3 separate regions of the Homo sapiens genome follow, and all the other regions are linked to region 1. The links are contacts of gene promoters, found by promoter capture Hi-C in blood cells and fetal thymus (Javierre and others, 2016). All regions are on one chromosome and are shown on one strand. The core of a region is centred on a gene start or on the middle of the fragment in contact, and the rest is flanking DNA. Distances in the headings are between cores, read along the strand shown. Region 1 holds the start of GOLPH3 (golgi phosphoprotein 3). Region 2 overlaps TARS1 (threonyl-tRNA synthetase 1). Region 3 overlaps AMACR (alpha-methylacyl-CoA racemase).

Region 1 (4,360 bases), core at 1,267-3,766:
CACTCATTGTTGTAATTAGGAATATTCTCATTCCTAAAATTCCTTCTTTTTTCCTTCCTAAAATATCCTTTCTTCCTCTTCCTGTTTTTAAAATATCTCCTTCCTTCCTCCCTCACTTCTTCCCCAGCTGCCCTCCACCCCCACCCATCATGATGGCTGGGGGTGGAGGGCAGCTGGGGAGGAAAAAAGCTGCATAGACTTTCATGACCTGAGAAGTGCCACACAGTCATGTTGGCCACATTCTATTCATTTCAAGAGAGTCACTAAGTCTGGCCCACACTCAGGGGGAGGGAAATTAGGCTTCACATTTTGAGGGGAGGAGTATCAGAGGATTTGTTGGCATTAAAACCTTCAGGAGAGAAAGGAGAACAACTGGGTGAACAGGGGCAGAGCTGGGAGGGAGATTTTCACTACACATATCTTTGTACTCTTTGAACTACATACTTGACTATATTAGTCAAGTAATTTTTTTTTTTTTTTGAGACGGAGTCTCGCTCTGTCACCCAGGCTGGAGTGCAGTGGCGCAATCTCTGCTCACTGCAAGCTCCGCCTCCGGGGTTCACGCCATTCTCCTGCCTCAGCCTCCCGAGTAGCTGGGACTACAGGGGCCCGCCACCACGCCCGGCTAATTTTTTGTATTTTTAGTAGAGACGGGGTTTCACCGTGTTAGCCAGGATGGTCTCGATCTCCTGACCTCCTGATCCGTCCGCCTTGGCCTTCCAAAGTGCTAGGATTACAGGCGTGAGCCAACGCGCCCAGCCAATTTTTTTTTTTTTTTTTTGAGACAGGGTCTTGCTCTGTCTCTCAGGCTGGTGTGCAGTGGCACGATCACCCTCATGGCAGCCTCAAATTCTGGGCTCAAGCGGTTCTCCTGCCTCAGCCTCCCGAAGACCTGGGACTACAGATGTGGGCCACTACTCCTGATTAACTTTTTTCACATAATAAATTAATTACATTTATTTTACAAAGAAATATTTCAAGCTACAACATTTGGTAAAATCAGAAAAGATGAAGAAAAAAGGTCCAAAGAGGGTGTGGGCTGGCGCGGTGGCTCACGCCTGTAATCCCAGCACTTTGGGAGGCCAAGGCCGGCGGATCACGAGGTCAGGTGATCGAGACCATCCTGGCTAACACGGTGAAACCCCGTCTCCACTAAAAATACAAAAAATTAGCCAGGCGTGGTGGCGGGCGCCTGTAGTCCAGCTACTCAGGAGGCTGAGGCAGGAGAATGGCGTGAACCCGGGAGGCAGAGCTTGCAGTGAGCCGAGATTGTGCCACTGCACCCCAGCCTGGGCAACAGAGCAAGACTCCGTCTCAAAAAAAAAAAAAAAAAAAAAAAAAAGAGGGTGTGAATGGGAGAAATTGGTTGAGGTGAAATCGACCTTCACCAAGACAGGTGGGAAAAAGGGAAGGTCTACTTGGTGTGCCCCCTGGACCCTCTCTTCCCTTCATTTAGCACTGTCACTTTCCAGGGCATGGGATGGTAGGCAGCAGCAGTTCTGGATAATGGATTTGTGGAAGAGAAGAATCCATCTAAAGCACTCTTTAGCCACAGCCCATGATCACTTTTTTTAAAAAATTTTTATTTTTTGCTTTGCTGTTGTTCCACTCTGTCCATACATTGTTTAATACAGGATGGCACACAATACCATTCCTGGTTAAATGTTTCACTTAACAAGCGCCACCCTCTACTCCTCCAACTCCTGTCTCAGGTTTGACAGCTATTTTTTTAACCTAATTTGCGCACGCCAAGAGGATTTCACCTAGTAACTACACGGAGAGACATCCGATGCGTACAAAGACGTGGCATGAAACGCTGCAGGTTTATTGTCTCTATAAAAAGATCGTTAAGGTCGAGCGTGCTAACGTGTGCGGTACTAACTGTACTCACTACGCCCTGGTCACTTTATAGCACAAGTCCGAGGCAAGGAAAGAAGTTTTACAAACAAAACTGGTCAACTGTTCTATCTTCTTACTCCTGGAAAACAATAAAGGTCCACTTTCAAACCATTTGGACGCACTTGCTCCTTCTAAAGGGTTAGGGAGTCCCGGCAGATAGCGTACCCCTCCCCGCCCAGCAGCAGAGAGCAAAGTCCTTCCTGCCGATCCTGCAGACCCCGGAGTCCAAATGGGACCCCGTCCACACGACCGCGGAGTCGCCTCCGAAGACGGCGGTGTCTGGGGCGTGGAGGGCACGGCTGGAGGCTGAGTGGGGTCCACCTTCGCGTGGCCCAGGCTCTTCCATTCACGGGGGGCCCCGCCAGGTTCAGGCTCCAGCCCTGGGTAGTGAAGGGGAAACGGGGAACGGAAGGAGGGAGGGCACGTCACGGGAGCAGGACTGCAGGACCGCGGGTCAGGGGGCGCAGGAACGCCAAAGAAAAGACAAGCACCGAGGGCCGGGAAGGGTGTAGGCTGCAGTGGCAGCGGATCCCCGGCCGCCGCTTCCGGCGCCTCCCGGCCCAGCTCTCCCGCGCCGACTCTGCCACATCCTCCGGTGACGTCAGCCGGGGCCGCCATATTGGAAAGGCGCCGCCGCCGCCTCCGCCTTGGAGCTCGGGGTGTTTCGGGGACTGCGGCCACAGGCAGGAAGGCGCTCCTCTCCTGCCCCGCCGACGCCCGGCCAGCCCGCTTCGCCCTGACCTGTTTCCTCATGACTGCCCCCGGCCCTGCTGCCGACGGACGTCGCCCCGGCGTCCGGATTTAACACGGAAACCCGGATCGGAGGCCGCGCGGGGAGGAGGAGGGCGACCCGGTCGGTCCTGCGACCCTCTCGGCCCGGCTCGGCGCCTCGGCGGGAGCCATGACCTCGCTGACCCAGCGCAGCTCCGGCCTGGTGCAGCGGCGCACCGAGGCCTCCCGCAACGCCGCCGACAAGGAGCGGGCGGCGGGCGGCGGCGCCGGCAGCAGCGAGGACGACGCGCAGAGCCGCCGCGACGAGCAGGACGACGACGACAAGGGCGACTCCAAGGAAACGCGGCTGACCCTGATGGAGGAAGTGCTCCTGCTGGGCCTCAAGGACCGCGAGGTGCGGGCGCGGCGGGCTGGGCGGGGGGCGGCGGCGCGGGGCCCGGGCGCCAGGTGAGCTCCAGGTAGGTGCCAGGTGAGCGCCCGAGGCTTCCGGCCCGCGCACCTGCCCTCGCTCCGAAGTCCGCGCCTGGTGGCGCCCAGCTGACGCCGAGCGGTGTCGGAGTTGGTTGACCCCCTGGCGCGGCTGGTGCTTTCTGGATCCTCCCCGTAGAGATGGCTTGGATTTTTCCTTACCCCTTTCACAGTCGCTCCTTTCATTTCGACACCCTGGCAGTTTGTATTTCTTCGTCGCCTTTTTTCCGCGTTTTTAACCCGTGTAGACCCCAGGGTGCAAATCCAACCCGGAGACTGCCCGGGAAACTAACAGCTGGAGCCACCAGCGCCACGAACTCTTTGGGTTTTTGCAGGCTTTAGGACCTGGGAGGGGTGCCCGGATCTGCTTGCTGGGGATGTTTTTTTTTTCTTCTTCTTCAGTTAAAGCTTACTGTTGGGAATTACGAAAAACGTAGGCGAAGTGGTAATAGAGGGAAAAGCTCTTTTACTGAGTAAAGTTAAGTTAAGTTTCTCATGAAACCTCCTGGTAAATGACTTTCTAGGTGAACTTACATTAGGTGAGAGATTATTTTTAGTATCGCTTTTATATTTTATCAGTTGATGAATCTCAAAGTCTTGCCGTCTTAAGAAAGGGCTTTTTCATCGAGTGCTTGAAATGTAGGTTTGTGAGTTGATCAGAGGCCTCAAAGCTTCAGGTGGGTTGAAGTTGCAATAGATAATTCTTTGTATTCTGACTTTGAAAGCGTTTATTTTCACTTCAGTGTCCAAAATTTTCACACACAGAAAAGTTGAAAAAGTGATAGATACATATGCATATATACTCTTTCTAGATTCTATGACGTTTTGCTGTATTTGTTATATTTGCCTACAAAAATGATTATTTATTTATGTGGAGACGGAGTTTCGCTCTTGTTGCCCAGGCTGGAGTGCAATGCCGCGATCTCGGCTTACCGAAATCTCCGCCTCCCGGGTTCAAGCGATTCTCCTGCCTCAGCCTCCTGAGGCAGGCATGCGCCACCATGCCCGGCTAATTTTGTGTTTTTGTTTTGTTTTGTTTTTGAGACGGAGCCTCAGTTTGTCGCCCAGGCTGGAGTGCAGTGGCGCGATCTCCACTCACTGCAAACTCCGCCTCCCGGGTTCAAGCGATTTTCCTGCCTCAGCCTCCCGAGTAGCCGGGACTACAGACGTGCGCCGCCATGCCCAGCTAATTTTCATACCTTTAGTAGAGACGGGGTTTCACCATGTTGGCCAGGATGGTCTCGATCTCTTGACCTAGTGA
Region 2 (4,435 bases), core at 130-2,629, 1.3 Mb before region 1:
AGCCACTTGCAATGTCCCAATTAGAATTTCGTGTCAAAATCTCTTCAACATTCATTCAGCAGATACCCTCTGTGTCAGTCTCTGTGATTGCAGAGATGAATAAAACCTGCAAGTTGCCCTTGGAGGGGAAGACCAAGGTCTTGGACAGTTCACTGTACACTCTTTTTTCCAGACCAATCGTTAAACATAAATAATCACATGTCCCACTTAAAATTCTCTGTTCAGAAGAGTCTTCTAATTATACTCTTTGTCTTATTTCCAGGTCATTTCTCAAGCTGTGATGGAACAGCACGTATGTTTGTATTGAAAGTATAAAAAAGAAATTAGGGAACATATGCATTTTTCCATTGGCTTGCAAATTTTAAAATTCACAATCAACAATTTTCTTCACAATTACAGTGGGGGTATAATGGTCGGGAGACTGATCAACTGATCAGCCGTAAGATAAATGGTTAGGTAGGGTTCTAAGCAACACTACACTTGATCATCTATAAACTTACCCTAAAGTAAATGACGGCACTATAAATTTAGCAATTGCAGCATTTGTAAAAGTGGCTCTTAAAAGCCAGCTTACTGTGCTACTTCTAAAAAGGCTGTTCCTTTGTGCTTCTTCCTTCTGGTAGCTTTCTAAAGAGTCTCCAATAAAACAGCTGTAATGACTAAAGCAAAAAGTGAAGCACAGTTCACAGCAGTAAAAATAAAGTAGAAAGGCAAGCTTAACTGCCTGTAAAAGCAAAATACTCAGGAACCAGGTTGATTTAGGGCTGGCTTTTGATATGCCAGTTCCTTTCAGTGTGAGCCTGGAGAAGTGAAAGCATTTTCTGCAGACTTGAGAGGCCTTAAGGGGATCTGTCCTGGCTTAGAAGCCAACCCTAGGGCAGGTCCAGATGGAAAGGGCAAGGAGGGGGTCAAAAAACTGGCTTTCTTTGGTTTTCATTGTATTCAGTGTAAGCCCAAACACCAAGTCTCTATTCCCTAACATCTCATTTAATGAAATGTCAGAGCTGGCATCACATCTGGCAACTGAATAATTACCAGTCTCCTCTTCAACTTTTGTTCTCTGATTTTTATATTCAACCCTACAATCAGATCATCTTATACAATCATACGCCAGTTGCTTCCTTTTACAGTAACAACTGAAAGTCTTTTTTCCCCTCTCAGATTACCCTTTCCTAATTCTTCTTCCTGATTTTTCCAACCAGTACCATCTTACACTACCATGTAAACCATTAGAACCCTTACACATTAGGAAAGTCTCAGAAAGTTCCCTGCGATTTGCCAACCTCTGATAACAGAGCCCTCTGTGATGATAACTTTTACCTCAGCTCGACCTCCATCTCCAGATCCTTCTTTGTTCTTCTTTTTGCCTCCTTCCTTTTGCTTCTCTTCACCAGCACCAATCTAAATAAGCAAAAAACGTTTTATATTTTAATCTAATGTGACACCTCCATCCTGTGATGCCCCAGGAAGTGTTGAGAATGTTATTTTAGTATTTGTTATTTAATTTAAAAAAAATGGAAATCTGATATTGAAAGACTGAACAATTTCATCACTGGCAAAGACAGGTTAACAACTTACAATAAAGGCAAGTCTTTAAAAAGTAGGAAGGAGTTACTAACGATGTTTAACTCCTCAAATTTCATTTATTTTATTTTAACTATTCTTGTGACTCTCGCTTCAGGTTTACTTGGACCACATACCAAACATATGGCCACAAGGAAGCACGCAGTTGATTCAGTAAGCATATTTCCAGGGGAAAAAAAAAAAAACTGAATGCAAAGTGTGCCCATGAATTCCACCAGTGCTAACAAAAGCCATGGAAGAAGCAAACATAAGGCCCAATCCCTACCATGTGTAAACCTAGTCTCTCCAGGGAAAGTAAGGCATACATGTGTGAGAAACTCCCGGAGGAGAAAACACAGTAGTAACGCTACGATTAGATGTCAAATAAGCTAGGACTAGCGTTTTAAAGGATGGAATGCATTTCAACAGGTGGATTCTGAGAATACAGGAAATGTGTCCTATGTGTACACATAAGCTTGTTGTCAGAAATGTTAAAATTTAAAGAGAGAAAAAATGACTAAACCAGGCTGATTAATGAAGGATTGTTTTAGAAAGTAATACAAGGTAAGACAGACTAAGGCTCACAGAAGCAAGAACTAAAAGTTACCATAAGGAATACAGACTTCAATTAGAAGCAAGTGAAGTCATAGAAAGTTTTAAAGTAATAAATCCTGTGCCAGGAATGTAAACAGGGATTTTAATTAGTTTGCATGTTTGTGACCTTTAGTTTTCTTAAGTTTTAAGATACAATTCATATACCATACAAGTTACCCATGTAAAGTACACAATTCAATGGTTTTTAGGTATTCACTGTTTTGCAACTATCACTACCATCAATTTTAGAGTATTTTCATCACCCTCAAAAAGAAACCTTGTACCCATTAGCAGTTTACTCCCTGTTGCCTTCATCTCCAGACCCTGGCAACCATTAACCTAGTTTCTGTTTCTATAGATTTGCCTATTCTGGGAATTTCATATAAATAGAATCACACATTATGTGGTCTTTTGTGACAGGCTTCTTTTAGTTAGCATAATAATTTCAAGATCATCAGGTTGTAACATGCATCAATACTTGTCATTGTACCTTTTTATTATCAAATAATATTCCATTGCTTACTTATCCATTTATCAGTTGATGGACATTTTGGCCATTGTCTTTTAAATCCTATAAAATGCGTTACTTGTATAATTAAAAAAAAAACTAATTTTAAAATATGACTCCTAATTTCATGCTGAGCTAAAATCCCCCCTACTCCAGAAGTCTGGATTTAATAAACTTTAAAGGTTCATTTAGATTCAATAGAGCCTTTGTTATACTGCAGAAGTGATGTAACTGATCAAGTATACTGGGTAAAAAGAAAAATTGCGGCTGGGCGCGGTGGCTCATGCCTGTAATCCCAGCACTTTGGGAGGCCGAGGCGGGCAGATCACGAGGTCAGGAGATCGAGACCATCCTGGCTAACACGGTGAAACCCCGTCTCTACTAAAAAATACAAAAAAAATTAGCCGGGCGTGGTGGCGGGTGCCTGTAGTCCCAGCTACTCGGGAGGCTGAGGCAGGAGAATGGCTGGAACCCGGGAGGCGGAGCTTGCAGTGAGCAGAGATCGCGCCACTGCACTCCAGCCTGGGAGACAGAGCAAGACTCCATTTCAACAACAACAACGACAACAAAAAAAAAAAAAAAAAGAAAGAAAAATTGCAGGTCTGTGCAGGTTTAAAATGGAAAGATGATAAAATAAGTTTTATATTTCTGATAAGATTATTTTGGTTTTGACCATTTGCCAAATGAACAGGGGTAGTGAGAGAGAGAGAGAGAGAGAGAGAGAGAGAGAGAGAGAGAGGGAGAGAGAGAGAGGGAATCACCACAAAGGTTTTCTGGTTCTAAATACGGCTCCATTTTACAAACAAGAACACTGGCTCAAAGAAGTAACTTGCCCATTTGTATCATTAAGTAATAGAGCTGGGAAATTACAACAGGTCTCTCTGGAACCCTGAGGCCTATGACCCCTTTTCTACAACACTGGGAAGAGAGTAGGCAACTGTTCTCTATTTCCCTGAGTATATATGGTATGTACATCTACATACAAGTAATCTAAAATCTCAACCCAAAAGTTGGGAAACAGAACCGGATTGTGAAGAGAAGCTACAGAATTACCTTTCTCAGGAATGATCTGTCCCTGACTCACTCAGAACAGCACAGGGGTTATTAGTATTGGCTATAGGATACTGGGTTTGAGGAAGGAAAAAAACGGGGATACTGGGTTTGAGCAAGTTACTGTTCCTACGCCTGCTTTCTCATCTGTATAATGGAGATAATAACAGAACCCACTTCACAGCGTTATTAAGAAGACTGAATGAGGCCGGGCGCGGTGGATCACGCCTGTAATCCAAGAACTTTGGGAGGCCGAGACGGGCGGATCACGAGGTCAGGAGATCGAGACCATCCTGGCTAACACGGTGAAACCCCGTCTCTACTAAAAATACAAAAAATTAGCCAGGCCTGGTGGCTGAGGCAGGAGAATGGCATGAACCCGGGAGGTGGAGCTTGCAGTGAGCCGAGATCGCACCACGGCACTCCAGCCTGAGTGACAGAGCGAGACTCCGTCTCAAAAAAAAGAAGACTGAATGAGTTAATTCATGGAATGCATTAATACAGTGCCAAACTCGTATTTAGTACTCAAAATAAATATTAACTATTGTATAATTATTACAGGAAGGAAAAATTACATATGTGTTAACCATACATATCACGTCCAATTAAGAATAGCACAGGAGAATATTTATGGACATGGAAAGTTGTTGACCACATTCTATTAAGCAAAAAAAAAAAAAAAAAAAAAAGTTACAAAACAGTAAAAATATCATTTTATGT
Region 3 (4,323 bases), core at 543-3,042, 1.8 Mb before region 1:
ACCCTGCTCTGGGGATTGAATAAATAGGCTTGGATAAACCTAGAGGGAAACAGAGATGTACTGGGAGAAATTACATCCTGGGAAGAAGCCACACATTCCAGAAATGGTGGCTTCACTCTTTGAGTCCTTAACTGCTGTAAACATGCCATTAGCCTACAGCAAATGTTATTAATATTACTTGCAATGGTGCTATTTTATGTTTGTCTCAGAGAAGGGATTATCTCCATCCTCAATTCATACTCTCTTAAGAAGATCGTTACTTTTCTCTTAAGGTGTCATGGAGAAACTCCAGCTGGGCCCAGAGATTCTGCAGCGGGAAAATCCAAGGCTTATTTATGCCAGGCTGAGTGGATTTGGCCAGTCAGGAAGCTTCTGCCGGTTAGCTGGCCACGATATCAACTATTTGGCTTTGTCAGGTATGTTGAAAAAAAATTTAGTCTACACTTTTAATTTATTCCATCAAGATCTACAGGTATGTTGATTAACAATAATTTGTAAAGGTAAAAATTTAAACATTTATCAGAATCAATCAAGAGAGCATGGGTGTTCAAAATGGATCGGTTTGAGTCTTGAAACAATCATTCTCAACCTTCCCTCACCCCATCCCTTAACAGGTTGGAAGGTTAATACATGCCCACTACTATCATTTATTTACTACATTTGTTGAGTCAATTCTCAGACAAACCCCTGCTAGGAATTAAGAGGCTTACTGGGTACTACGGATGGTTGCTCTGTGGTTTGAAAATGTTGACATAGTTAGATTCTGACAGCTACTTCTCCCCCGGACCCCGAAATCTCCACCCACCATATTGAGAATCATTGCCTGAGTCATTGTTTCAGACTTCTATGAGCACTAAAAAAAGCCCATGGTTTTCAGGTCCTAATATCACTTTATTAGAGTTTTTGCCTGTGACGACATGTGAGATAGGCCTGATTCCAGAATTCTAAGAACCATGTGTTGTTGACTATAGGACATTTCAGATTTTCTGTGAGTACACATTTAAAAGTTGAGGAAAGAAGTGGGTATAGAATTGTCTCTTCACATCTACTTAAAAATTAAATTCCTTTTTTTTCTTGTCTGCAAGTATTTTCTTACATTTCTTTATGCTAAGAATGAAAGTGCATTTACTGTTTTAAAACCACAAAATAAATAATCATTTTCTTTTCCAAAAGTAAGTGAGTAAAAACTTAGCAATATTTGAAAATGTTGGTTGGAATAGGTTTTAGAGAGGAAAACAACAAAACAAGGATCCTGTCTTGAGGGAAAGCCTGTTTATGAGTTTACTGACTAAGCTCAGATTTGGAAAAGTGATGTATACTAGCTTTCACTTAGATTATCTGCTGGAGAGATTGATTATTCCTCTAAGATGCTCACATATTTATTTTAAGAAGAGATTAAATTTAAAAGAGACATTAAATTTGTTTTTAATGATGTAGGTGTTCTCTCAAAAATTGGCAGAAGTGGTGAGAATCCGTATGCCCCGCTGAATCTCCTGGCTGACTTTGCTGGTGGTGGCCTTATGTGTGCACTGGGCATTATAATGGCTCTTTTTGACCGCACACGCACTGGCAAGGGTCAGGTCATTGATGCAAATATGGTAAGTATTAATTGGGGTAGATGCCTGCCACTTGTCCCTAAGTTTAAGATATAGCTGCTTAAAATCCTTTTTTTGAAGAAGAAGACAAGAGATAAATGACATTTGAAGTTTCAAGCCAGGTTACCAAGGATATCCTTTTCTTTTTAAAATAGACTTATGTCTTTTATATATCTGTTAGAATGTCATATTTTGATCATCTGTCCTTGGAGTCAGTTCTCTGAACTTTCTGTGACTCATGTGATTCCTACGTTGTTTTAGGTTGGTGCAAAAGTAATTGCAGGTTTTGCCAAATATTTGCCAACCTAAATATTTCAACAATTTTCCCCAAGTATCTCTTGTGCTTAGTATATCATTTTCAAGCAGTCGTCATTCAAAAAAAGTTCAAGAAGTCTCCCTCAGCTGGTAGAGAAAATTCTTAGGAATGCTAAGGTCAAATGGACCTCCCTGTCTAAACCTTCCTGCTGCGTTTTATAGGGGATGCTCTGATATCATAACACTTCTGTTTGTTCACTGTCATCCACTGAGTGCTTGCCTCATGTTCTGCTGAGCACATTCCCTGTGTGATTTCTTCTTATTCTCAAAACTGCATTTGGAATACCTTGTTGTTTTAAAGAGGAGGGAACGGAAGCATTGCCATTTGCTCAAGATCTCACAGCTAGTGGGTAAGAGAGCCCACTCCAGCACCACCACTGCGTGTTTGCATTTTCACAGACATTTGGAGGTGGGATGGAGAATGGATCTGAGGAGACAAGACTGGAGGTACAGAGACCAATGACTGGGTTATTGCTGAAGAGATCAGGGCAAGTACTAAAGCAGTTAATGGTAGAGTTGGTTTGCATTGAAGGGACATTTGAGGTATAAAATTGCTGGGAATTGATAATGGACTGACAGGGAGCGAAGAGGGAGAAGTTGAGGCTGGCTCCCAGGTTTCTGGCTTAGATGACCTGCTAGTGTCTTGAGGGAAGACTGCTGAACACAGTGGTCAGAGCATAGAGTGGCAGCTGACTACCTCCGTCCCAGCTCTGCCATTTACTAGCTCTGTGATCTTGGGCAAGTTACTTAACCTCTCTGTGCTGTAGTTTCCTTTGTAAAATGGAGATAATAATGACATCCACCTCATAGCATTGTTAGTTGCTATGAGAATTCAATGAGTTCATCCATTGTTCAGTGTGGGAACAGTGCCTGGCGTACAGTGGGCCCTCTGTAAAAGTTTGTCATTGTGGTTATTTTTACTAGAAGAAAAGGAACTCAGTTTTGGTCTTTTCAGTTTTAAAGTGCCTTTCAGATATCCAGGTGGGATACTTGAGGTTAGGGACTAGAAACAGATTTCGGAGTTATTTGGGAGCCATATGAGACTATGTGATCCACTAGGAAAGGGGATAGAACACCGGCATTTAAGGAATGCGTGGGCAGAAAAGAGAAGCAAGGGCTGAGGACAGCTAAGGAGAGAAGCAGAATGGAGTGTTGTCATGGAAACCAAAGAAAGGAGTGGTCAGAGGGTCAAATGTTGGTGGATACCTCAAGAGTTTAGAGACTGAGAGTGTCAACTGGATTGGGTCCTGGCTGATCTTCACAAAATCCATTTTCTACCAGAAACCCCCTCATCTCCAAAGCTTCAGCCTGCGCTTCCTTCTCCTGTTCATGGTGAATCATGACCAGCCCTGTACTGAGTGTGTGCCTGTGGGACACTGTCATCAGGGCACATCTCACACTTTCCAGTGTGCCCTCTCTGAAGTGTGTACCAGCAGCAGGGGAGTGTGGTTTATCTTTTGTGGGCCAGCTCTTGGCGTACTCATGGCATAGTCGCTGCATGAGATAGCAGCACCGGATTTATACCAGTACCCGCCAAACTCAAGACCGGTACCTTCCACAGGGCTTCTGTGATCCACACAGTTCCCTGAGGGAGACGTGCTACTATCATTGGCATTGAAGACTTGAAGGCTTGGCGAGGTTAACTGCCTTCCTCTAAAGCAGATGACGGGAAAGGGTCCGAAGCACTGCCCCAGGCAGTTGGACCCTAAAGCCACTGCTTTCAACAACTTCCCCTGCTGCCCCAAGAGCATGGTCCCTGGGGTCCAAAAGGAATGAACTAAGAGCAAACATGGAGTCTTGGGAGTGTTAAGGAGAATTTGAGCCTAGATACTTCTCTAGTAATAATTTGAATAATTTACTGAAGAGATGCAATTGATTATCATCAAATATAAATAAAAGGTGATTGCTGCTTTCAGCAGAATGTAGCTAATCAGAATTATATAATGATTAGAAGATAGTAAGGTTGGCTGGGCATGGTGGCTCACGCCTGTAATCCCAGCACTTTGGGAGGCTGAGGTGGGTGGATCACCTGAGGTCAGGAGTTCGAGACCAGCCTGGCCAACATGGTGAAACCCCATCTCTACTAAAATACAAAAAAGTAGCTGGGCTTGGTGGTACGCGTCTGCAGTCCCAGCTCCCTGGGAGGCTGAGGCATGAGAATTGCTTGAACCCAGGAGGCAGAGGTTGCAGTGAGCCGAGACCACACTACTACACTTCAGCCTGGGTGACAGAGTGAGACCGTGTTTCAAAATAAATAAATTAAATAAAGAAGATAGTAAGGTTTTAGGGTATGTGAAAATGTTGTAATCTTTCTTCTGGGTTCATATTTCCATTAGGGGCTAGTAAGTGTTTGCTAATTACACAAGGCTAAAAGAATCAGTAAATCATAGTCATTACTTCATCACTAGGACCC

What was found. Contacts are between HindIII fragments. The CHiCAGO score rates a contact against its expected background, and 5 or more counts as called.
Region 2: a fragment that was not itself captured here is called in contact with the fragment with the promoter of GOLPH3 in region 1 in 3 of 17 cell types (non-activated CD4 T cells, fetal thymus and total B cells); the score reaches 7.9 in non-activated CD4 T cells.
Region 3: a fragment that was not itself captured here is called in contact with the fragment with the promoter of GOLPH3 in region 1 in 1 of 17 cell types (non-activated CD4 T cells); the score reaches 8.7 in non-activated CD4 T cells.

Annotation. Positions count from the first base shown.
Region 1 is chr5:32,172,475-32,176,834 of GRCh38, reverse strand. GOLPH3 (golgi phosphoprotein 3) reads left to right here and starts at 2,516. Exons shown (of 4, transcript NM_022130.4): 1 at 2,516-3,025. The coding sequence starts at 2,801. RefSeq lists a silencer at 2,623-3,232. The HindIII fragment of the contact is 5,568 bases long and covers 1-3,509 here.
Region 2 is chr5:33,442,290-33,446,724 of GRCh38, reverse strand. It overlaps TARS1 (threonyl-tRNA synthetase 1), which reads right to left. Exons shown (of 19, transcript NM_152295.5): 2 at 1,321-1,401. Among named protein-coding and RNA genes, the nearest start is that of TARS1, 3.5 kb to the right of the region's middle. The HindIII fragment of the contact is 1,323 bases long and covers 718-2,040 here.
Region 3 is chr5:34,001,849-34,006,171 of GRCh38, reverse strand. AMACR (alpha-methylacyl-CoA racemase) reads left to right here. Exons shown (of 5, transcript NM_014324.6): 2 at 273-416; 3 at 1,438-1,598. C1QTNF3-AMACR (C1QTNF3-AMACR readthrough (NMD candidate)) reads left to right here. Exons shown (of 9, transcript NR_037951.1): 7 at 273-416. Among named protein-coding and RNA genes, the nearest start is that of AMACR, 4.0 kb to the left of the region's middle. The HindIII fragment of the contact is 2,842 bases long and covers 372-3,213 here.